Linked DNA regions of Homo sapiens: regions 1, 2 and 3 are each linked to region 4. Evidence: promoter capture Hi-C in 16 types of primary human blood cells and fetal thymus (Javierre and others, 2016). All regions are on one chromosome and are shown on one strand. Each heading gives the region's core, a stretch centred on a gene start or on the middle of the fragment in contact. The rest is flanking DNA. Distances are from core to core; before and after follow the strand shown.

Region 1 (6,207 bases), core at 1,094-3,593, 240 kb after region 4:
CACCCCCCTTGTTCCTTCGCCTTTTGCCCCACACCTCCTGCTCCTTTTCGGCATTTGCCTGCAGCTGCAGTGCTTTTAGACCCCCGCCCTCTCCGCGTTAGTTCGTCCGTCCATCCATCTATCCTCCCTCCCTCCATCCTTCGGTCCATCCATCCATGCCTCCAACCCACTGTCCTTTCCCAGGCCTCTTGCCCTGCCTCTTGGCTCTCTGCTCTTACTCTCACCTTCTCTAGGCCCCTGAGTGCCTTAGTGAGCGGGCCTACAGCCCCTTCTTCTGATCTTTGTCTTCTGGGCCCCAGGGAGCACCTGGCCTCGTGGCCTTTCGGGGTGACAGCAGGCATCACGCCCCTGAAGAAGTTTGCAAGTGAGAAGAGGTGGAGGAGGAGACTGCACGGAGGGGTCTCTAATGACACTTGTTCTCCTCTGAGACATCCGACTCCCAGTTTCGTTCTATCCATCATTCCCCGCACTTGCATTTAACGGACTTAGAGTGGGAGCTGCCCCTTGTCTCTTGCGTGCCTAACCCACGACCCCTCATAATCTGGATATTATATAAGATTGTCAACAATCTTCTCATCCTAGAAAGGAGCATATCTGTTAATGGGCATCAGAGAGCAGACCTAAGTGGGAGCCCAGGCCACCCTGGGGCTGCCCCATGCTGGGTGGGCAAAGATGGGGCCATTGTCAGGGTCTGGGTGCATTGAGAACCGGAAATGGAGTCAGACGGGTTTGGTGACTCAGAATTGATTTTTTTTTTCCCAAGGGACAGGGAGGGGGCGTAGAGGAGGGAGGGGGGAGGAGAGAGGTAGGGGGATGGGGAAAAAGCTGCTTTGCACAGCTAAGATGTTTTTGTCATTAACCCAGAAACTGAGGTACAAGGGCAACCCCTGCCCAAAGGCCCTCTAAGAAGGGGAGGGACTTGCATAGCTGACCAAGGAGACTTTGAAGATGCTCAAGGACCAAAGACAGCAGTTTCTCTGCTCTGTGACCATCCTATCAGTGCAGGACCTGAGAAGCTGGGTGTAACTTTGACAATGCTATGGTAACCCAGGTGGAGCAAAATTGAGTTCATGGGGGTGGGGACCTGGGAGAGTATCTATTTGGGATGCCACATAGTAGCAGAAAGGACCCATCGAGAAATCTCAAGAAGAGACTCAGGGACTTATAGAAACATTGGTTAAGGACGGTTTCCCCTTTAAATGGGGAAGCAGGCCCAGAAAAGAGATGATACTTACCCACAATCACCCAACTAGTTAGCAGTGGAACCCTAAACTGCACCTTGAAGTGAAGGGTCCCATAAGAAAGGTGGATGGATTCTTCTTAGTGGGGCCATCTTAGTCCAGATGCAGCAGGTGAAGGAAGATGGGCATTTGAGAATGGACCCACTGAAAGGTTCCCCAAGTGGTCCTAGCACCAGGAGCTTGTCACGGAGTGTGGGCTTCATACTGTTGAGCTGCAGGCCCTGCTTGGGGCTTCTGGAAAGGGGACAACCTCTGGGTTGTCTTCTGGGAAGAACAGTCTCTGGTAAGGAGAGGCTGGAGACTCTCTAAAACTGGCCCTGACCCTTCTGAGCTGTGTTTCTCCTCTAGGGGCTGAGCTGGAGGAGAGTAGCAAAAACACGAAGAAGTTGGATGCCATGACCCTCATTAAAGAAGGTGGGAGTCGACACACATTAGGGCTGGGACCCAGGGCAGACAGGACCACGCTCCACTTTTCCACCACACTACAGAAGGAGGTGGCTGCTTGAAGCAGCTGTCTGGGGACCCTCATTTTGATAGGTCCGAGTCGGCCGGTTGTTCTGGCTCCTGTGACCTGTCGTTGGAGATCATAATCATAGGTGATTGCCCACTCACCTGAAAGCGTATACCCTTTGGGACTGCTTAGATCGAACTCTGGAAGCTGGAAGCATTCAGCATGGAGCTTGTTATATCAGCGGGGAGGTGAAGTGCCTTCTGAGTGTGGGGTGGGAGTGCTCTCCGATCTTCCAGAGAAACCCTGGGATCTTCAGCCCCAGTGACATGGGCTTCTGTCATTGCAGACATGTCCATCTTCGGGCACTGCCCTGCCCATGATGACTTCTACTTGGTTGTGTGTAACCACTGCAGCCAAGTGGTGAAGCCTCAAGCTTTCCAGAAGCACTGCGGTGAGGGGAGCCCTAGGGAGGAGATAAAGGGACAGGGGAAGGTGGAGCATGGAACTCTGAGGACAGGGTCAGTTGGGAGGTCTCGTAGGGTAATGGAGGGTGGTGTTGAGGATAGGAAGGTTGTGGGGGTGGCTTCAGAGCATTGTGGGGAGTCGGGTTATTGTTTGAACAAAATTCTAGCATCCAGTGGAATTACGGGAGGAGTTAAGACATTCAGGAAGCTGGGTCTTGAATTTTGAGTCCTAAAGGCTCAGATTCAAATGGGAAGGAGGCATGTTTACAATCTAATTTATGGAAACTCAGATTCTCTCATGTGAGTCTATGGACATGGTTAGGTTGGGGAAGGAAGTGGTGATACCACTCACCTTGATTATTCTTTCCACCTCCTGGTGACAGAAAGAAGACATGGGCCCCTCAGCAAGCTTTATGGCCGGGCCCCACCCCCACCTCCAGCCCCTGCCAGCTCTCAGAAATGCCATGTAGTGAATGGGCAGGGCCCAGCTTGTAGGGCCCCAGGTTCCACGAAAACCTCCTCCAGGGAGAAGGGCCAGGGGTCCCGGAGCCGTGGCCACCAGCCTCCTGAGAAGACCCAGAAGGACAACCTCTGGTAAGGAGAGGCTGGAAACTTTCTAAGACTGGCCCTGACCCTGACCCATGGATGGGCTGACATCAATACAGACAGCCCTGGGTCAAGGCATACTCCTCACAGCAGGAGGCAGCCGTCCTGTCTGCAGCTTCCTTCCATATATTCCAGGGAAGATGGGGTCTCCTCTTCCCGTGTTTCACACCCCTGCTGGAGCCCACCCAAATTCCAGGGCTGGGAAAGAGATGGCTCTGGGCTAGAGTCCAGGCCCCAGGCCTCGCCTCCCCTCCCCTCCCTCAGCCAACCCCCTCTCTCTGTGTGTAGCCTTTTCGTGCCTGTGGTGAATCTGGAGAAGATGTCCAGTCTCCCGAAGCCTGATGGACATGGAATCAGGGTGGCCCCACCCTCTGCTTTTCTCAGCCAGCCAGGGGGCCTCACCAAGGACTCCCCTGGAAAACCTCCCATGGCTCCCCCTTCTAAAGAACCTCCTGGCAGAGAGAACATCGAGATCATCCCCAGTGAGGGGTCCAGTCACTGGGCTGAAGGCAGCCCTCCTGAAAAGGAGCCCAGTGGGACCAGGCTGCCCCCTAAAACCCACCGGAAGATGGCTCGTGAGTAGTTGTGGTCTTGGGGGTCCAGAATGTAGAGTGGGGACTCCTTTGGGCTGCTTTGTCCTTGGGCTGGATGAGGAGGAGGTCAGGTTTATGGGCCTGGCCATCACAGGTTGTAGGGTATAGGAGCCCCGTCACCTCTTGACCTGCTTGCTTCCTGGGAAGCTTCTCTCCATCCTGTGTCTCCTGATCAAGGCTGAGGGAGCCCATGCCCAGGAGGTGAAGTTCTTTCTCACTCTTTTCTCACCTAGATCCAGGGCGCCAGCCAGACACATCTCACAGCTGGCTTCTCTGGCCTCCCAGATGCCCATGGCTGCTTTTGTTTCTTGATGTGTGTTGCCCTGCTTTGGGCTTGAAGTCCCAAAAGGCGCACCTGAAATTGGGATAGGGATGGTTCTCACACCCAGCAAGGAGATGTTGATGCCCAGAAGTTTATCTGGAAGGTACAGCCCCAGGCTGAGGGCTGGAGTCTCTTCTGCCTTAGTACCAGTTCTCAGGCCCTTGGCAGGAAGCGGCCAAATCCTCCTGTAAACTCCTGGAAATGGTCTTGAGGTTCATTGGAAGTGCTTTCCCCACAGGGAAGGAGTGCGACCTCAACAGGCAGTGTGGGGTAATAAATCCAGAGACCAAAAAGATCTGTACCCGCCTGTTGACCTGCAAGGTAACCCCCTTCCCACTGCACGGTGAGGGAGGACAGCACAGGGCTTGCCCACTCCTTCCCTGGGCAAAGAGAGGAATGTCGATGTTACTGAAGGTCCAGCTTAAGGGAGGGCAGTTAGGCCCACCCAAGGGAAGGGGAGATGGGTATGCCCCTCCTGGGCAGAAGGTGGGAACAGTGGGAAGGAGGGAGTTTCCAGATTCCCCCATCCCAAAGGAGGGTTTTGGCCCCATGGGGGAATGAAACAAAGACACATGAACACAGCTGCAAATATGCCCACCTCTCTCCCTGCCCCCCAACTTGCCCGGGCCAAAGCACCCTGCCGTCCCTCACCCCTTCTCAGTTCATACCTACTCCCCAGCTCTCCACTCTGCTGTATTCTAGATCCACTCAGTACACCAGCGCCGGGAAGTCCAGGGCCGGGCCAAGGACTTTGACGTGCTGGTGGCAGAGCTGAAGGCCAACTCCCGCAAAGGGGAGTCTCCCAAGGAGAAGAGCCCAGGGCGCAAGGAGCAAGTTCTCGAGCGCCCCTCCCAGGAGCTCCCCTCCTCAGTCCAGGTTGTAGCAGCGGTGGCTGCTCCCAGCAGCACCTTCTCTGTTCGTGCCAAGCAGACCTACCCATACTGTGCACTGCCCAGGTACGTCTAGAATCCAACCCCTACCTCACCTGGGGGTACTTGGCCCCTAAGCCATCAGGGGCCCCTGGAAACAGGCTCAGGGAGTGTCCTGGAAGAGGCACTCCCTCAGCCCTGAGTGTGGGGGTATTCCTGGGGCTCCTGACAGTGGTGTGGAAGCAGGAGACTCCCCTGTTTCCAACCAGGCATACCACAGCACCCCAGCCTCTCGGCAGTGTGCCAGATCCAACACTCAGGATATGAACATTTTCCCAGCTGCCTCCAACAGACCGAAACTTGTCACTGGGGAGCTGAAAGGGTCACACTCCTGGGCAAGGCAGCCCTATGTGTATTCACTCACTGGCCCCTTCGCGTGCAGAGGCTATGCCGGACCCCAGGGAGAGCCTGACTTGCTGAAGGAGACACACATGCATCTCTGCCTGTCACACAAGGGGCAGACACGAAACACAGGCTCAGCTCACAGACAGGCTCACAGGAATATGTGATGCAAGAAGGGGGTTGAGCGAGTTGACTGGGCTGACCAGAGCTGGGTACAGTTTTAACTGTGAAGATTTTCTGGAGGAGGCGGATCTGCAGCAGATTATCCCCTGAGGAGGAAGGGGCTGGGAGGTGAAGGGGCTGGGGAGAGAATCCCTTGGGAGCAGTCTCTCTGTCTCTTACTCTGTGAGCTGTGTCGTTCCCTCCTGTCCTTCCCTTCCCTCTGTCCTCTTCTGATTGCCCTGCAGGGTGTCTGCCCTGGTGCCCTGCTCTTTGAGCTCGGCAGGTTCAAGGATGCCCCTACTCTGACCCCACAACAGTCACATTCCCCTGGCATCCCTTTTGGCCCTTCCAGGTCCCGGGCCTCCTCCGAGAGTGAATTGGATGATGAAGGCCCCTGTGGTGGTGATGGGGACCCAGGCCTGTTCCCCTTCCCCATGCCCCGGGGTGGGACCCAGGCCTCCAGCGAAGAGAGTGAGGAGGAGGGGACATCTGACGACCTCCACCCACCCCCTGACTGCCATTATGCAACCCGGCCCCCACGGCCACAGGCGGTAAGGACCTGGAATAGGGGCCTATGGAGGGGGTGGCCCAGCACTCCTGGCCAACAACATGGGGAGGAGGCCAGATCCTGTGTGCAGATGCTGTCTGTGCACCCCAGACCCTGCCAACCATGCACCTTCCTTCTGCCTTTAGTTCTGCACCTTTGGGAGCCGGCTGGTGAGCCCAGGATGCTATGTGTTTAGCCGCCGGCTGGACCGGTTCTGCTCAGCACTCAGCTCCATGCTGGAACGGCACCTCAGCACACACATGTGGAAGTAAGTCTCTCGGACCCAGAATGGAAGTTCTAGAATGGAAATTCCTAGGTTCCAGACATACTTGGGCTTCAGAAGCCCTGATCTTTCCTGTATACCCATAGGTGTGCCTTGGCTATTTGCCAGCAGGACCCCAGATAGGGAGTAGCATGAAAAGGAGGTGGGAAAACTTGGCAGCCTAGAGTTTGGCTAAGGCAGGGCATGGAAGGGTGGTCTGGGGGTGAATCTAGACTTTCATCCATCACTTCCAGTACCTTTTGGGTAACTAGGGATAGGGGATGCCCA
Region 2 (6,275 bases), core at 2,147-4,646, 160 kb before region 4:
TTTTAGACAAGGTTTCACCATGTTGGCCAGGCTGGTCTTGAACTCCTGACCTCAGGTGATCTGCCCACCTTGGCCTCCCAAAGTGCTGGGATTACAGGCGTGAGTCATTGCGCCCGGGCTTAACTTTTTTTTTTTTTTTTTTTTTTTTTTTTTTTTGTGGTGGAGTCTCACTCTGTTGCCCAGGCTGGAGTGCAATGGCACAATCTCGGCTCACTGCAATATCCGTCTCCCAGGTTCAAGTGATTCTTTCGCCTCAGCTTCCTGAGTAGCTGGGATTACAGGCACCTGCCACCACTCCCGGCTAATTTTTTTGAATTTTTAGTAGACACGGGGTTTCACCATGCTGGCCAGGCTGGTCTCGAACTCCCGACCTCAGGTGATCCTCCCGCCTCGGCCTCCCAAAGTGTTGAGATTACAGGCGTGAGCCCCTGCGCCCAGCTGATTAACTTTTATTCTAACCTCTGAGAATGACAGAAGAGGAAAGACTTGTCTTTCAGAGTATGACAAAAACTGAAGAGGTTTTCATCTAGTTAAAAAAAAATGGGGAGAAAAAATTATCTCTAAAAAGTGAGTGGCATGAGCAAAAATGAGAAAGCAAAGACTGTAACTGAAGAACATAGTCTTTATAGACAAAGCTTAAAGCCCATATAGGGAACAGTGGAAAATACTATTGGAAGGCCTTGAGTAGCAGGCTAAGGACTTAGGCATTATTCAGTAGGTAGTGGTTGCTGTCAAAGGAAACACCAGTGTGGTATGGAGGAAAATTTTCTAGTCCTGATTTCAGAAGGCTGGAATTATTGTGCCAGTGTAATACTTGGCAGTCCTTACCCTAAACCTTGGTTTATTTCTAAAACAGGGGTAATCAGGCAGTTGTGAGGGTTAAATAAGATCATATGACAAGGTGTGTTTGCTTTGAAAATGTCAAAATGTTATAAAAATGTAAGTTTTCATTGTTGTGAGGACATAATTGATACTTAAAGACTACCGATATAGCAAAATTACTAAGGTGATGGCTGTAGGATTACAAGAGGGGCAATTTTTTTTCTTTTCTTTGTTTTTTTTGAGACGTAGTTTCACTGTTGCCCAGGCTAGCGTGCTATGGCAGGATCTCAGCTCACCGCAACCTCTGCCTCCCCAGTTCAAGCGATTCTCCTGCCTCAGCCTCCCAAGTAGCTGGGATTACAGGCATGTGCCACCATGCCCGGCTACTTTTGTATTTTTAGTAGAGACGGGGTTTCTCCATGTTGGTCAGGCTGGTCTCGAACTCCCGACCTCAGGTGATCCGCCCACCTCGGCCTCCCAAAGTGCTGGAATTACAGGCGTGAGCAACCGCGCCCGGCCAAAGGGGGGCAGTTATTATTATTATTATTATTATTTGAAATGGAGTCTCGCTCTGTCGCCCAGGCTGGAGGGCAGTGGTGCTGTCTCGGCTCACTGCAACCTCTCCCTCCCGGGTTCAAGCTATTCTCCTGCCTCTGCCTTCCGAGTAGCTGGGATTACAGGCGCACGCCACCATGCCAGGCTAATTTCTGTATTTCTTTTTTTCTTTTTTCTTTTTTTTTTTTTAAGTAGAGACGGGGTTTCACCATGTGGTCAGGGTGGTCTTGAACTCCTGACCTCAGGTAATCCGCCTGCCTCGGCCTCCCAAAGTGCTGGGATTACAGGCGTGAGCCGCGCCCGGCCAGCTGCTGCTGTTTTAGACAATGGTTGATGAAGGATTCGAAGGCCTAAACAATAGAGCTTTTGTTCTGTTTTGTTTTTGAGTGGTCCTGAACAGTTCTTTTGGGCAGGGGAATTTGTCTGTGTGTGAATGTGCAAACATATATATAATCTGAGTGGCTGCCTGGCCTTGTCCTAGGTTTTGTCCCGTATATACGCCGTCTTTTTTTTTTTTTCTTTCTGCATGTATGTATATTTTCTCAAGGCATCTGTCCTGCACTAGACTTTGGCTTGTCTTTCCAGGCCAGCTTCCAGAGGATGCTTTGGCAGTTTTCCCTCTGGGTAACCAAGCAGGCTGCAGCCAGCAGATGGCACTGCAGCAGAAAGGGGCAGAGTCCCTTTAGGCCCTTGACAAGCACGGCGGATTAGTAACCGTATAATTTAACCCTCCAGTTAGCCTTGGAGGACTCGGTGTCGCACTTCCGCCCGAACTCTAATAAAGCGGGCCGAGTTGTGTGCAATTAAGGATTTCAGTATGCAAATCTGAATCTGTACTTTTGTCTCCTCCACCCCACCCCCATCATTAGACTGGCAATGTCTTTTGTCACGTTGTCAAAGTGTCCTCAGAGAAGCGGTGTCTAGATATCGCCGATTTCTGGTTAAAGTGGCTGAAGTGATCCCAGCATTAATTAAATGCAGGAGAATCGAGATTCTCCTGATAGTTTAAGGAAAAGAAAAATTCACACAAGCAAACGGGCAACCCTTTGAATGTTTTCCGACGACGTGGTGCTTTAGGATCTGAAAGATGCGACTTGGTTTTTGTTGTTGTTGTTGTTGTTGTTGTTGTTTTTGAGACGGAGTTTCCGCTCTTGTTGCCCAGGCTGGAGTGCAATGGCGCGATCTCGGCTCACCGCAACCTCCGCCTCCCAGGTTCAAGCGATTCTCCTGCCTCGGCCTCCCGAGTAGCTGGGATTACATTACAGGCATGAGCCACCATGCCCGGCTAATTTTGTATTTGTAGTAGAGACGGGGTTTCTCCATGTTGGTCAGGCTGGTCTCGAACTACGATCTCAGGTGATCCGCCTGCCTCGGCCTCCTAAAGTGCTTAGATTACAGGCATGAGCCACCGCGCCCGGCTAATTTTGTATGTTTAGTAGAGACGGGGTTTCTCCTTGTTGGTCAGGCTGGTCTCGAACTCCGACCTCAGGTGATCCGCCTGGCTCGGCCTCCCAAAGTGCTGGGATTACAGGCGTGAACCACCGCGCCCGGCCGCGACTTGTTTTTGTTACAAGGTTCCTCATTTCATTTGCAACGTTCAGACGCAGTCTGACTAGATTTCCATCCGGAGTAAGGAAGAGCAGCTCAAGGGCAGTCACGGAGGCCGCAGGTGCGGCTTCTTCACCCGCGGTGCTGGAGTTCTCTCAAGTGGAAGCCCAGGACGATGAAAACCTCATAGGTAGGCTGCTGCTTACACACAGCAGCCGCCACGGCGCAAAATAAACTACAAAACTACAAGCCTTTACCTTTTCAAACACACTGACGCGGGCCAGCCCCAGCCCTACGCCCGCAGGGGCACGCAGAAAAGACTTAGTTACCACGGCCAAGTACGAAGCCTTCGAGATAGCGTTCTTCTTACCCTACGTAAACACGCAGTTTCCCGAGCTCGACAATCGGCTAGCCACTCCTGATAGCGTTCGGCGCTCGCCTCTCGGCCCTTGCTCCTGCGTACTACGGCTTCTTCCAGTCACCTCGGCCCGGATCGGGAAGTGTCAAGCGGGCGCTCCCCCATCTCCGCCGCTATTACCACTGAACCCGGACCCCCTACCCAGGTCCAGGGCCAGCCGCCATGACGAACGGTGAGAACTGATGCCCTGAGCGGAGGGTGGGAGTGAAGGACGAAGGGAAAACGTGGCGGGCGGGGCCGGGACTGACGTGGCCGTTCTCCCCGCCCCCTCCCAGCCCGGCCCCCCTTGGCCTCTCGACGCCCCTAACTTCTGTACCCCTATACTCCTCTACGGGTTCCCCCTTCCCATATTCATCTAGGACCCCCAGTGCCTCTTATGCTCACACCTCGAGTTATCTATCCCTATGCTTTGCTTTCCCTTTTCTTTTTCTTAGTTCTTTCTGGCCCTTGGAGAGGTCAGTCCCAGAGGTACTACTGCTATTTAAACCCGGGGAAGAGAGAGGCTCCTCCTCCCAGCTCCCTGCGTTCTCATGCTTTCGGACCGTAGTTTTGTTGAGAGGGCCAATAAATGACATAGAATATCAAGTCCCACACTTTTGGGGTTGCTGGTGAATGTAGACCCCACAAAAGCTTCTTCTTACGGAAAAATACCGGAAAGATTTCTGATTTTAAAGTCCTGGCGGGGTGATCCCACGTGGAGACCCTGACTAGTGTTGCAAAGGGTGGATTTAGACACTGCCTCTTCTAGATGATGAGGCAGTTTATCTGACCTAATTTTCCAGGCCTCTTCAAACACTTTATGAATTCTGAATTCCAGAGGAGGACAGGAAGGAGGGCCTTCATGATTTTTAGTGTCAACCTTACAGGAAAGGAGAAGAGAAAGCCTTTTAGGCATTACGATGATTTGAGGGGCTCCGGAAAGCATTTCTCAAAAGTACTTTGTCCATAGACCTGGCACTGAAGACTCGAATTTAACCTCCTTGTGAATTTTGGCATTGTCTGCAGAAACTTATGAGAGAAAAGGGGTAGCACGTGAAGGTATAGTTCCTCAGAAAACCTTAGTGTATGTATTAATTTGCTGGACCCTTTCTTAGTGACAGCTTAGCTGTGAGACAGTTTTACTGGAGGAAGAGAGGTAGTGTGATCTAGAACTGGCAGACACTGGTTATATATAATATTCATTTGGAGCTTCCTGGGAAGTCAGAGGTCTCAGGATACTAGGCACAGTAAGAAAAGGGAATTTACCCAGAGGAAGACAGAATCTGAACCAGGAAGTAAGACAGCAGTTTGACACGGTAGTTGCTGAATAAATTTTAGTCATTCTTCCCCCATTTTGTGGTCCAATATCTTCTTGTTTTTTGCAATTAGGTGATTCATTGTGCTTCCCTGTACAAGAAATAAGCTTGGTTTATGTATTTAAGAAACAGAGCTAAGAAGTTAAAGCTTTCTATGTTGAAGCCTTAGATACTTTTTCTTTGTTTTAGAAAAATCTGTTATTATTCTGGCAGAAATTCGGTTTGTTAAGAGTATCATCCATAAAGTGTAAGATAATGATAGGAAAATTGTAGTCATGTGGATTCTTACTCTTGCAACTTTCATTAAGCTTAATTTTTTGCCTTAACATATTCTTCACCAACAGTTGCACATCTGACAGTTTTGGCTACATATCTAGCTCTCCTTTATCATATGAGTGATTTATAACAAGAACATGTTAAATTCTCTGTGCTGAGTCTCTAAGGATTCATATGTCTCAATCTATTGCCAACACTAGTCATTCCTGGGATGCTAATTTCTGCCCAGGATTTCTACTTCTTGAAAGGTGAGGGGAAGGACCAGTGACATTTTAGTAAAGGGGATGTAAAAAAAAAAATTTTTTTTTGAGTTGGGGTCTCACTCTGTTGCTCAGGCTACAGTGCAGTGGCATGATCGTAGTTCATTGCAGCCTCGAACTCCTGGGCTCAATTGATCCCCCTTCCTCCTACAAGCAATTTTTGGGAACAGTAAAATAATCGTGTTAGTCCCAGGATCCTGGCTCCCCCTTGTCAAGTGTCAGTACTGCCTGTTGAGGTTATTATTTTGTTATTATGTCACACACTATCTTCCTTAGAGTTCTCAGGCGGGATCACAGGTCCGACGCTAGATCAGTACCTAAGGTTTTCTTTTCTTCTTTATTTAACAGTGTACTCCTTGGATGGGATTCTGGTGTTTGGTTTGCTCTTTGTTTGCACCTGTGCCTACTTCAAGAAAGTACCTCGTCTCAAAACCTGGCTGCTATCAGAGAAGAAGGGTGTTTGGGGTGTGTTTTACAAAGGTGAGGCCATGTCTGGACAGGGAGAAGAGACTGCCATCTCTGGACAGTGTGGAGCTACAAAGTAGGGAGTACAGTGAGCTGGGATTATATTTGGTTTCATTTTTAGAAAAAAATCCCTCCGATTGGGTCTGAGAGTCTGGAAAATTAATCATTCTCCAAAGTTGAGGGAAGAGGTAAAAGTTAAAATTTGCTGGGTGTGATGGCTCATGCCTATAATCTCAGCACTTTGGGGGGCCAAGGCAGGAGGATTGCTTGTGTCCAGGAGTTGTAGATCAGCCCGGGCAACACAGTGAGACCCCATTTCTACAAAATATACAAAAATTAGCCAGGTATGGTGGCACGTGCCTGTAGTCCCAGTTACTCAGGAGACTGAGGTGGGAGGATTGCTTGAGCCTAGGAGGTTGAGGCTGCAGTGAGCCATGGTGGAGCCACTGCACTCCAGCCCAGGTGACAGGGTGAGACCCTGTCTCAAAAAAAAAAAAAATTATTTAAAAACATAATTGTCTATTTTAGCATCCAGATGATTTTTGTATTCTCCATGGAGTAAAAGTATACACATCAAATCATTTTAGGCTGGGGTGGAATTCCTCCCTTCAGTGGGAAAAAAATTTTTCTACGGAA
Region 3 (6,100 bases), core at 601-3,100, 180 kb after region 4:
AAACCCTGTCTCTACTAAAAACACAAAAATTAGCCGGGCGTGGTGGCACCGCCTGTAATCCCAGCTACTCAGGACGCTGAGTCAGAGAATTGCTTAAACCCAGGCGGCAGGCCAGGCGCGGTGGCTCACTCCTGTAATCCCAGCACTTTGGGAGGCCAAGGCAGGTGGATCACGAGGTCAAAAGATCGAGACCATCCTGGCCAACATGGTGAAACCCTGTCTCTACTAAAAATACAAAAATTAGCTGGGAGTGGTGGCGCGCGCCTGTAGTCCCAGCTACTCGGGAGGCTGAGGCAGGAGAATCGCTTGAACCCAGGAGGCGGAGGTTGCAGTGAGCCGAGATCATGCCACTGCACTGCAGCCTGGCGACAGAGCGAGACTCCGTCTCAAAAACAAACAAAACCCAGGAGGGGGAGGTTGCAGTGAGCCAAGATCACGTCACTGCACTCCAGCCTGGGCCACAGAGCGAGACTGTCTCAAAAGAGTCTCCTATATGCGAGCAAGGAGCTTGATTTTGTCCATTGCTGTAGCACCAGCACCTAGAACAGTGCCTTGTTCACAGCAAGCACTCAAGCACATTAACTAAGAGAATAAAAAGGGATGTATTTTAGGCCGTCTTGGGAAGACAGAAAAATAAGTAACAAAGCAGTCAATACATATGTTAAGTAAATGGCCACAAAATTTAATAAATGCCTTCTGATAAGCATAACAATTTCTATCATACACACCCTAACTCAAAATTATGTCACCCGAAGATGATTCTCTTCAATGTTCTGGAAGTTAAATATCGACCAACAAAGTCACTTTATAGGACAGTGGGGAAATATGTCAAAACTTCACACACATCTTCTACGAGTCAGTAAAAAAGATGAAAAAGTGGTAACTGCAGGTGGTAAAACTTCGACAGGATCAGCATATACTTGACAGGAAATGCAGCATCTCATACCACTCAGTACAAAGAAAATGTCTGCCTTCCCTGACTTTAAAAAAGAGTAGCTATGTAAAAACTTAACTGACGAAAACAGAAACTGAAAGTAAAAATGTCTACAGCATATATATGTACAACTTAATATTGTGAACATTTTCATACCACAAAAGTTTTTTAAAACTTGCTTTAAACTTTTAAAAAGTCAGAAAAAATTTTGGTCAATTGGAATCGGCATGATGAGAAATCTCTTGAAAACCATTCTAAATTCCAGTTCCTATAAAATCAGACTCCAGACAATATATCCAGCCAAAGCTACGACTGCCTTCGCGCTTCTGAAGAAACTATACACCGCAGCATGCCCTACTACAAACCAGTTGCTTTTTCTTCCAGGAAGCACGTTTAACTTTTTGTTTGTTTGTTCAAGGCAGTCATACTAGGCACGAAAAGATGAACGGAGCAAAGAGTGACCCTTGGCCTTCTCCGGGTTCAAGGTAGGAGTTCCGGCTCCTCACGCCTTCTTTACCAAGCACCAGCCGGAGCTTCTCGCTTCCGCACCGAGTTAGGACCCAGGGGTGACTCAGCGGTAGGACAAGTGCCGCCGATGTGGTCTAGCTTGGGGAAGGACGGCGGGCGCCTGAGGAGGGCATAACATCCCCAGGTCCGGCCAGTCTCGGGTTCCTGGGGAGCCCCATGACACGGCAGAACCCAGGCCGCGCGGCCAGGTCCCGGGCCTGCCCACCCATAATTCCCACCCGACGTCCCCCAGCTGCACGGACCTGTCGTACTCAGACCGGGTAAGAAACATGGCGAGGGTAGGAGGAGGCAGCGGCTACGCGGGGATTCTGAGGACCAACACGACTCCACCGGCACCCAACTCACCGGCAGCCAACTCACCCACACGGCCGCAGTACTAAGGACCAACTGCGCGTGCGACCGCGACCTCTTTAGCCCGCCCTCCTGTGCCTGCTTCCTATTGGCTGGTAGTAGTTCCCGCCTAGGTGATTGGGCCAACGCGCTTCCTCACGAGGGCTTGGTTGGTCCGGAGGAGGAGGAGGACCAGGGAGGTACTTCCGCCTTAAATCGCGGGTGGTTGCTAGGGACGATAGGCACCCAAGGCGTGTAGTGAGTTCGCCTTGTAGAGAAGATGTGAGCCCGCCCCAAGACTGGCAATTGGAAAGGCTTGCATGCAGAGCTGGGTTGTCTGAACCCTGACATAATAGGTCCCTCGCCGGCTCCCGTAATCCCAGCTAGAGGACTTTGGTCCCGTTTCCGGCAAGGCCACCACCTGACTTCTCTTCGCAGGATTCCCTCTCTTAGGGTTCCTCCACGGTGTTCTCCATGCCCGGTCGAGGGCTCCAGGACTTTGGGCGGTAATGAGTCGGCTACAGTGGGTCTGAGCCGGCGCCGCGGACGAGTCCCTTCGTTTCAGCCAGTTTGGCTCGTTTATTGAGAAAAGTGGGGGGCGAGGGGTTAGTATGTAAGAAAGTCTTAAAGTTTCCACATGGTTAAGGTAATTTTATCAACTCTTTCTTGCACCCCTCCCCCTAGTACAGGTTTCAGACCTAAATAACCTAGAGTTCAGGATCCAGACTTCAAAATATTCACTGCTTTTTCTGTTGTTTGTGAAAAATAAGTGTTTTCTTTGAGCCCAGATCGTGCTATTGCACTCCAGCCTGGGCAACAGCCAAACCCTATCCGAAAAAAAAAAAAAAAAAAAAAGCGCTTTCTTTTTCGACGCTTCTTGCTTCCCTTCAATAAGTTGCTTGAGGAGCAACTTTGCAGCTTCGTAATAACACTGTAATTCAAGTATTTGTTCAAGAAAGGCAAGTAAGAAGTCTTGGCACGGGGGTGGGGAATATAGGGAAATGTTGGTCAAATGATACAAAGTTTCAGTCAGAGAAGGTGGATGAGTTCTATAGTTAATAATCATATATTGTGTACTTGAAATTGTGAAGAGGGTACACCTTAAATGTTCTCACCACAGGAAAGTATGTGAGATGATGGATTATGTTGATTAGCTTCATTTAATTATTTGCAGTGTGTGTGTGTATATATATGTATATCAAAACGTCACGTTGTATACCATAAACATGAACAATTTCTATTTGTCACTTACACCTTAAAGCTGGAGTCGGGGGAAAGAAATCATTTATCAGGCAGTATATGCTGGAAAGGGAAATGCCAGCATCTCATTTCCAGTTGTTAATGTGATACCACTAGTCAAGTCCTTAACCTCTCAAGGCCTGTATCTCTCCAGTAAAGTTCATTCTTGGTCCTAGATTAGGTTTGTAAGTCACCAAGGCATTTCAAAGGTGCAGGAAATGTAAAAATAAGCCTTTTGAGTATTAACCAAGATTAGTTTTCCCCACCCTTTATTTTCTGACTTCCTTCATGGATTCAGTAGGAGTTTAGTTTGGTCATCCCTGGCCAATCAGATGTTTAGCACTAATAAAACTGAGGAAGAACTCCAAGTAGCAATCCTCTGGGATCTGTTAGATTTCTGAGAAAAGAATGGTAATTTTTAGCTTTCTTGTCAGCTTTCTGACAAGCTTTTTTTTTTTTTCACCTTATCAGTTATTTTCTATGGAAAAGTCTTGGTCGTAAATTCACTACAGCTGCTCTTTAGAAGTTCTTTTATGGCCAGGCACAGGGGCTCACGCCTGTAATCCCAGTACTTTGGGAGGCCGAGGTGGGTGGATCACGAGGTCAGGAGTTCAAGACCAGCCTGGCCAAGATGGTGAAACCCTGTCTCTACTAAAAATACAAAAATTAGCTGGGCGTGATGTTGGGTGCCTGTGATCCCAGCTACTCGGAAGGCTGAGGCAGAGAGTTGCTTGAACCTGGGAGGCAGAGGTTGCGGTGAGCCAAGATCTCACCACTGCACTCCAGCCTGAGCAACAGAGTGAGACTCCATCTCAAAAAAAAACCAAAAAAAACGGAGTTATTTTACTACGTAGGTACTTTAGCATAATATTTCCTGAGCACCCAGGGTTCCATGGTGCTCTGCAGACCCTATCAATGTCAGAGACAGTAGTGAATTGCTTACGAAATGTTCTTGAATGTAGAATCTCCTCTGGGTAAATGTGTTTGTGCTATATATAACATAAATGAAGGGGAGCTGCAGGTAATTGTGGATAGGAAGGAAAATCTTTTCTCCCAAGAGAGTGCATTGTAACAATCTAGCAGCTAGCATAATGTGTCTTTGAAAGAAATAAAATGAGAAATTAGCTATTTAAAAGTAATTGAAGTTAAAATGTGTGTACGTACAAAGGAATATTGTTCACCCTTTAAAAAGGAATGAAATTCTGATACATGCTACAACTTGGATTAGACTTGAAGACCTTATGCTAGGCGAAATCTCAAGACACAGAAAGACAAATATTGTATGATTCTACTTATGTTCGGTACCTAGAATAGTCAAATTCATAGAAACAGAAAGTAGAATAGTGATTATCTAGGGCTGGAGGAAAAGGGGAATGAGGAGTTAATGGGTTTAATGGGTACACCATTTCAGTTTGGGATGATAATGAAGTTCTGGAGATGGATTGTAGTGATGGTTGCACAACAGTGTGAATGTATTTAATGTCACTGAATTGTACACTTAAAAATGGTTAAAATGGTAAGTTTTATGTTAGGATATTTTACCACAACAGAAATAATTTTTTAAGTTAAAGGGGGGAAAAAGGAAAATAATGGAAATGTGAGTTCTTTGAGGGTCAGTACTCTCTTGTTCAGCCTAGCACCTGGCATATGCTCTAGATACATTTGTTTAGTAAATAAGTATTTATTTTTTTAACTTTTATTTTAAGTCCAGGGTGTATGTGCAGGATGTGCAGGTTTGTTATATAGGTAAACGTGTGCCATGGGGATCTGCTGTACACACCATTTCGTCACCCAGGTATCAAGCCTAGTATCCACCAGTCATTTCTCCTGATCCCCTCCCTCCTGCCACCCTCCGCCCTCCAGTAGGCCCCAGTATGTGTTGTTCCCCTCCGTGTGTCCATGTGTTCTCATCATTGAGCTCTCACTTGTAAGTGAGAACATGTGGTATTTGGTTTCTGTTCCTACATTAGTTTGCTAAGGATAATGGCCTCCAGATAAGGATTGATTGATTGATTGATTGCTATAGGCATACTAGTTCCATAGACATTAATATATGTGTGACTTGGAGAAGTAGAGTAAGTAGAAAATTCAGAATTTCAAATAGCCACTTTAAAATGTTTTTAAGTACTGTATTTCTTTAAATTTTTTAAATAAAATAGACAAAAGTTTGGTTGGCTACACCTTTTTAGGTGAAATATACTGAGAGATGCGGACTCTTCCTCATTGGAGAAATGTAAGTTATTTAGACATTAATAAAAGTTCTGCGTTCACCCATAGAGTGAGAGTTCTCAAATATTTTGGTACTATTTTGCACATTTTTGCAAAGAAAGGAAGATCATCCTTAATTGAAAGCTGCCATGATTATTTTACAGATGAAACAAACTGTATTGCAGTAAAGATACTTTTTCAACTATAGATTGGAAGCTGTGTCATTCTACTGGAAGTAAATGAAGTAGTTTGGTAAAGTTAATAGCCCGATAAATGTTGAAAATACTCACATTTGTTAGCAAACATCATATATGAGTACTTTGTGTCAGACATTCCTGGGTGAGGCAGAAAATATGTGGAGAATTTAAAAAGTGATTCCAAATAAATTTAGGTCCCTTTGCTCTTTCTAAATATTACATTCCCCAAATCCATTTATCCACATTTATCTCTAGTAACTACAATTTGTTTATGTAAAAAGACATTTTAGATTTGGCTGCTTCCCTGTGTGTCATTTTTTACTTCAATCACTTTGTAGAGTATTTTTAAATAACAAAGGTTTTTAACTCAAGGATATAGAGAGGTTTAGCTAGCTTTGATTCTTGCAAACCCCTGAAGAAATAGAAAATGAACAGTTCTGGCCAGTGACTTAGCATGGCAAGAGTACTAATGCAGGCCCATTGCTGCATAATCTGGGACTACTCTAATGGGAAACTTTGGCTTATAGACGCCCCCATCAGCCTAGCTGAAATTTTCTTAGAACTGCGCTGCAGTCTGAGACCCTGCCTGTGCAATCCTTTCTTTTCTCTCTCCTTCATAGGTGCCAGACTTATATCACAGTCTGGAGCATCTCCCACCTTCTCC
Region 4 (6,418 bases), core at 1,798-4,297:
CCACAGGGATCTGCCCAAGGCAGAGCTCACCTTGTTCTTCCTCACCAGCGTGCTAGGCCACAGCAGAGCCACCCCAATCTTCAGCTCCAGCCAAGCTGATGCTTGCATTTCATTCATTCCTTTCATTCATTCATAGTGTACTGCTTAAGAGAGTGGGCTCTGGGGTCAGATTGCCGGGGTCCAAATCCTAGCTCTTCCATTACTAGCTGTATAATCATGGAGAAGACACTTAATGTGTAGATTAAGTGACTTAACTGATGAATTCCTCTTCCAGGAATGCTGTTCCTGATTCTTGAAGATGCAGCCCAAGTCCCGTCTCCTCTAGAGGCCCTCTGGGATTTCCTCCACCCTCACTGCTCTGTCCTCTGAATTCCTTTAGCCTTTTCTCTCAGTTGCTTCTGGAGCACTTCACCCATGCGACCCTGTTGTGTTGAAAGCCAGGGCCATGCCTTATCCAGGGGGTCCTCAGGAAGCAACCTGAGTAAGGAAATCCCACCAGAGCTAAAGGACAGCCGCAAGGCTAGCCAAGCAGGTTTCCTTCCTTCCCAGAGCCTCCACTGTGAAGTGGGAGGTTTGGACTAGAAGAACAATAAATTCTCTTTTAACAGACCCCAAGCCCTTGCTGCCCCTTGATAGCACCTAAAAGCTATGCAGAAGGGAGGCCTAAATGTCCCTTACACACAGGAGGGAGGTCCATAGGTTCCTTACAACTGGAAAGCTCCATGAAGCAGGCAGCCCTTCCCTGGGGATCAGGGAGGCCTCCACCAGGGCAACCCCTCCCTCATTTGAGACTCTCAGTGATGCATATGAAACTTGGAAATTTCCCTCCTGCTTTTGGGAGTTGGAAGTATCTGAGGAAGTGATGGGGAGAGAGCTCTGTCCTGTGCCCCCGGAGGGAGGACTGGGGAGGATTAAGGACTATTTGCCAAATGTGCTTGGGGATGAAGGAAAGGGTTCCTTGGATCCCCCAACCTATCTGCCTTTGGGTGGAAAGGCCACCCACCTGGAAGGGGCTTCTGAGCTCATGCCTTCCCTGGCAACCCCTGCCTCAAGGTGCAAGGCCCCAGAACCACCTTCCGTGATCCAGAGCCAGGGCTACTCTTTCCTCCCACCCAGAAAGCTTATTTTAGCAACAAAGGGAGCGAGATGAATGGAGAGTTGCAGCTTCTCCACGGGTTGGCTTGGGCCTTCACCAGAAATGAGAGTCTCATTACCCAACCCCAATTCAAAGGATAATTAACAGATGGTATAATTTCCAAGCATTCTCTGCACCACATGGCTATTAGGTGAAGAACAAAATGCCCACGCAGCCCCTAGATCCTTCCAAACTCCAGAGTCTGAGGAAGTCTAGAGAGGCAGAGCCCTGCGGAGGCGTGTAACCCACGCCTCCATCTCCAGAGCTGCCCTTGGCCTTGCTCAGAGGAAGAAAGCTCCTGTTTGGTCAAAGGGGAGGGCATTTCCTTGAGCCATGGGTCCTCCTCCTACTTCTATCCATCCTGCCAGGAGCACAGTCTAACCCTAATCTTTCTTGCTGTACCCAAGGCCCATCTCCTTTCCTGTTTCCCCAGGGGAAAAGAGAAAAGCTGATTTCTCATCCTTGGCCTCACTGTGTGGTCACACAGACACTCCTTGGGCCTGGGGCTGGGGGATCCTCTGCTGTGACCCAGTGAGAGTGGCACCACTGTGACCGGGGGCAGTGGTAGAAGGGAGCACCTGATCCAGTGCTTTTCAGATGGGTTCCTCCAGACCCTCAAGTTGCACAGAGCAGCCCAGGGATTTCTTGGTTGGGGGAGTGGTGGAGAGGGGCAAGGCCCTGACCCCCTCACTTCAACCCAGCAGCACTACTCATCTGTTCTATATTCTGGCCTTCCACTTCAGATTTCTTTTGAAGAAAAGAATTCTACTGCTAAATAAACATTTGAGAACCATTCACCTTATTCAATCCCCTCATTTTACAAAAAGGGACATTGAGGCACAGAATTTGAGCAAGGTCACATAGCTGTGGTGTTGGAGGCTGGGACCCAGGCCCAGGCATCCCCCCAGGCCAGGGCATCCCCCCAGGGACTACCTGACTGGGCCCCTGGCTGCTCCAGGATGTAGGGAAGCCTTTTCTGGGTCGCCTGCACGGCTCCTGCCTGGCTCTCCGTGTGGTCCAGCTTCATGTCTGGTCCTCTTGGAGAACCCCTGGAATCCTGCACACCCTCTCAAATGAAGCTGCCTTGGAGAGGGTCAGGAGCCCGGGTACCAGGTAGGCCTCCTCGCTGGTCACAAAACTGTGGCGGAAGGAGGGGGTAGCCGCAGGACATGGACAGGGAGGCAGGAGGGGATGAGAGGCCGCCTCTCTAGACAGGACCTCAGGGGGCAGTGTAAGCCCCTTGTCTAGAATCCAGGAAGCCTGTGTTAAAGCTAGGCTCCACCGCAGCCGGCCTCCGAATCTGGTGACAGTGTGTTTGCACCACCTGGCTTCCACCCACTCTGACCCTTCTAATTTACTTCCCTGGAAAAGCCCAAGTGGTGTCCAACATGAGGCTGGGGTCATTCTTCCAACAGCCCGACCCCAAGGGGCATGCTGGTCAGACAACAGCCTCGCTGGTGGGGTGGAGGGGACGGTAGGGAGCGAGTGGGCCCGGTGACTCATTGTGGGTGCTTCTCTGGGATTTTGGAGGCTTTGTTGTGTTGCTCAGGGCCCTTTTAACTCTGTCTGACCTATGGGAGGGGACAGCAACGAGGGCTTTTATGACTGGAATGAACTGGAAACTTGGCCTCTGAGAGCCCTTAAAATGTTTTGGAAACCTCTAGGCATACTTAGGGTACTTCCACCATGATTATCATCGGCTGTGTGGCTTCCGATCGCTAATTCGCACCGGGCATCTGGCGAGGCCGGCCTGGGGAAATTGGGATGGAGGGTCCTGCTGGAGGGAATCCTGGCGCTTTGGGCGGAGGAGTGCTCTGGGTGGGGCCCACCTCCTCCAGCGCGGCCGGCGTTGCCGCTTTAAGGCGGCCGCGGCGCGAGCAGGTCTATGGTAATGAGCCGCCGCCGCGACTCTGCAGAGCTCGCCCGCCCGCCGGGGAGGCGAGGGAGCGCGGGGCTGGGCCCGGGGCCGCGGCGACAGGCAGCAGCCGCGGCGGGGACGCGGGGCGCGAGCGGGCGGCGCGGGACCGTCGGGGGCCGCCGGGGCCGGGCCGGGGTCGGGGCGCACGGCTACGCGGGCGCAGGTGGGCGATCCCATAGGGGCGGAGGGGGCACCCCGGCTCCGGAACCCGGGGCCCGGCAAGGCCAGGGGCGCCGCGGGGCCCCCGGGCGCAGGTGGTGAGTGCCCGGAGCGCAGGTGGAGGCGCGGCGGCAGCCCGCGGTGCTCAGGGTGACCCGGGAGCGGGTCTGGCTCAGGGGGCAGTGGGAGCCCGGGCTCGTCGGAGGGTGCAGCGCGGGGTCCCGCCGAGCCATCCAGACGCAGGCCCCGCGGGGCGCACGGGAGGCCCCCGGGGACTGGCGCCCTGGCCCGGGCATGAGGCGCGGCGGGGCCGGCAGGAGCCGGAGGAGGAGCCGCCGCCGCCGTTGACCCGGCCGCCGGCCGGGAGCTGGGAGAGATGCGGAGCCCGGCCACCGGCGTCCCCCTCCCAACGCCGCCGCCGCCGCTGCTGCTGCTGTTGCTGCTGCTGCTGCCGCCGCCACTATTGGGAGACCAAGTGGGGCCCTGTCGTTCCTTGGGGTCCAGGGGACGAGGCTCTTCGGGGGCCTGCGCCCCCATGGGCTGGCTCTGTCCATCCTCAGCGTCGAACCTCTGGCTCTACACCAGCCGCTGCAGGGATGCGGGCACTGAGCTGACTGGCCACCTGGTACCCCACCACGATGGCCTGAGGGTTTGGTGTCCAGAATCCGAGGCCCATATTCCCCTACCACCAGCTCCTGAAGGCTGCCCCTGGAGCTGTCGCCTCCTGGGCATTGGAGGCCACCTTTCCCCACAGGGCAAGCTCACACTGCCCGAGGAGCACCCGTGCTTAAAGGCTCCACGGCTCAGATGCCAGTCCTGCAAGCTGGCACAGGCCCCCGGGCTCAGGGCAGGGGAAAGGTCACCAGAAGAGTCCCTGGGTGGGCGTCGGAAAAGGAATGTAAATACAGCCCCCCAGTTCCAGCCCCCCAGCTACCAGGCCACAGTGCCGGAGAACCAGCCAGCAGGCACCCCTGTTGCATCCCTGAGGGCCATCGACCCGGACGAGGGTGAGGCAGGTCGACTGGAGTACACCATGGATGCCCTCTTTGATAGCCGCTCCAACCAGTTCTTCTCCCTGGACCCAGTCACTGGTGCAGTAACCACAGCCGAGGAGCTGGATCGTGAGACCAAGAGCACCCACGTCTTCAGGGTCACGGCGCAGGACCACGGCATGCCCCGACGAAGTGCCCTGGCTACACTCACCATCTTGGTTACTGACACCAATGACCATGACCCTGTGTTCGAGCAGCAGGAGTACAAGGAGAGCCTCAGGGAGAACCTGGAGGTTGGCTATGAGGTGCTCACTGTCAGGGCCACGGATGGTGATGCCCCTCCCAATGCCAATATTCTGTACCGCCTGCTGGAGGGGTCTGGGGGCAGCCCCTCTGAAGTCTTTGAGATCGACCCTCGCTCTGGGGTGATCCGAACCCGTGGCCCTGTGGATCGGGAAGAGGTGGAATCCTACCAGCTGACGGTAGAGGCAAGTGACCAGGGTCGGGACCCGGGTCCTCGGAGTACCACAGCCGCTGTTTTCCTTTCTGTGGAGGATGACAATGATAATGCCCCCCAGTTTAGTGAGAAGCGCTATGTGGTCCAGGTGAGGGAGGATGTGACTCCAGGGGCCCCAGTACTCCGAGTCACAGCCTCGGATCGAGACAAGGGGAGCAATGCCGTGGTGCACTATAGCATCATGAGTGGCAATGCTCGGGGACAGTTTTATCTGGATGCCCAGACTGGAGCTCTGGATGTGGTGAGCCCTCTTGACTATGAGACGACCAAGGAGTACACCCTACGGGTGCGAGCACAGGATGGTGGCCGTCCCCCACTCTCTAATGTCTCTGGCTTGGTGACAGTACAGGTCCTGGATATCAACGACAATGCCCCCATCTTCGTCAGCACCCCTTTCCAGGCTACTGTCCTGGAGAGTGTCCCCTTAGGCTACCTGGTTCTCCATGTCCAGGCTATCGACGCTGATGCTGGTGACAATGCCCGCCTGGAATACCGCCTTGCTGGGGTGGGACATGACTTCCCCTTCACCATCAACAATGGCACAGGCTGGATCTCTGTGGCTGCTGAACTGGACCGGGAGGAAGTTGATTTCTACAGCTTTGGGGTAGAAGCTCGAGACCATGGCACTCCAGCACTCACTGCCTCGGCCAGTGTCAGCGTGACTGTCCTGGATGTCAACGACAACAATCCAACCTTTACCCAACCAGAGTACACAGTGCGGCTCAATGAGGATGCAGCTGTGGGCACCAGCGTGGTGACGGTGTCAGCTGTGGACCGTGATGCTCATAGTGTCATCACCTACCAGATCACCAGTGGCAATACTCGAAACCGCTTCTCCATCACCAGCCAAAGTGGTGGTGGGCTGGTATCCCTTGCCCTGCCACTGGACTACAAACTTGAGCGGCAGTATGTGTTGGCTGTTACCGCCTCCGATGGCACTCGGCAGGACACGGCACAGATTGTGGTGAATGTCACCGACGCCAACACCCATCGTCCTGTCTTTCAGAGCTCCCACTATACAGTGAATGTTAATGAGGACCGGCCGGCAGGCACCACGGTGGTGCTGATCAGCGCCACGGATGAGGACACAGGTGAGAATGCCCGCATCACCTACTTCATGGAGGACAGCATCCCCCAGTTCCGCATCGATGCAGACACGGGGGCTGTCACCACCCAGGCTGAGCTGGACTATGAAGACCAAGTGTCTTACACCCTGGCCATTACTGCTCGGGACAATGGCATTCCCCAGAAGTCCGACACCACCTACCTGGAGATCCTGGTGAACGACGTGAATGACAATGCCCCTCAGTTCCTGCGAGACTCCTACCAGGGCAGTGTCTATGAGGATGTGCCACCCTTCACTAGCGTCCTGCAGATCTCAGCCACTGATCGTGATTCTGGACTTAATGGCAGGGTCTTCTACACCTTCCAAGGAGGCGACGATGGAGACGGTGACTTTATTGTTGAGTCCACGTCAGGCATCGTGCGAACGCTACGGAGGCTGGATCGAGAGAACGTGGCCCAGTATGTCTTGCGGGCATATGCAGTGGACAAGGGGATGCCCCCAGCCCGCACACCTATGGAAGTGACAGTCACTGTGTTGGATGTGAATGACAATCCCCCTGTCTTTGAGCAGGATGAGTTTGATGTGTTTGTGGAAGAGAACAGCCCCATTGGGCTAGCCGTGGCCCGGGTCA

The links. Contacts are between HindIII fragments. The CHiCAGO score rates a contact against its expected background, and 5 or more counts as called.
Region 1: a fragment that was not itself captured here is called in contact with the fragment with the promoter of CELSR2 in region 4 in 9 of 17 cell types (fetal thymus, total CD8 T cells, naive CD4 T cells and 6 more); the score reaches 11.9 in fetal thymus.
Region 2: a contact is called between the fragment with the promoter of TMEM167B here and the fragment with the promoter of CELSR2 in region 4, in 2 of 17 cell types (M0 macrophages and M1 macrophages). The highest score is 5.9, in M0 macrophages.
Region 3: a contact is called between the fragment with the promoter of PSMA5 here and the fragment with the promoter of CELSR2 in region 4, in 1 of 17 cell types (fetal thymus). The highest score is 6.8, in fetal thymus.

Annotation. Positions count from the first base shown.
Region 1 is chr1:109,484,468-109,490,674 of GRCh38, forward strand. ATXN7L2 (ataxin 7 like 2) reads left to right here. Exons shown (of 11, transcript NM_001350175.2): 2 at 1,590-1,655; 3 at 2,039-2,143; 4 at 2,540-2,750; 5 at 3,051-3,337; 6 at 3,916-3,998; 7 at 4,380-4,633; 8 at 5,463-5,661; 9 at 5,804-5,925. Among named protein-coding and RNA genes, the nearest start is that of ATXN7L2, 3.7 kb to the left of the region's middle. RefSeq lists an enhancer at 1-147. The HindIII fragment of the contact is 440 bases long and covers 2,124-2,563 here.
Region 2 is chr1:109,087,368-109,093,642 of GRCh38, forward strand. It overlaps TMEM167B (transmembrane protein 167B), which reads left to right and starts at 3,397. Exons shown (of 3, transcript NM_020141.4): 1 at 3,397-3,515; 2 at 5,523-5,654. The coding sequence starts at 3,506. It also overlaps the pseudogene NDUFB3P1. RefSeq lists an enhancer at 3,031-3,230. The HindIII fragment of the contact is 3,338 bases long and covers 634-3,971 here.
Region 3 is chr1:109,424,598-109,430,697 of GRCh38, forward strand. It overlaps PSMA5 (proteasome 20S subunit alpha 5), which reads right to left and starts at 1,851. Exons shown (of 9, transcript NM_002790.4): 1 at 1,705-1,851. The coding sequence starts at 1,733. RefSeq lists enhancers at 1,914-2,845, 2,352-2,411. The HindIII fragment of the contact is 5,034 bases long and covers 1-3,475 here.
Region 4 is chr1:109,246,492-109,252,909 of GRCh38, forward strand. It overlaps CELSR2 (cadherin EGF LAG seven-pass G-type receptor 2), which reads left to right and starts at 3,048. Exons shown (of 34, transcript NM_001408.3): 1 at 3,048-6,418. The coding sequence starts at 3,589. RefSeq lists an enhancer at 2,365-3,085 and silencers at 3,087-3,146, 3,307-3,406, 4,505-4,695. The HindIII fragment of the contact is 8,037 bases long and covers 1,119-6,418 here.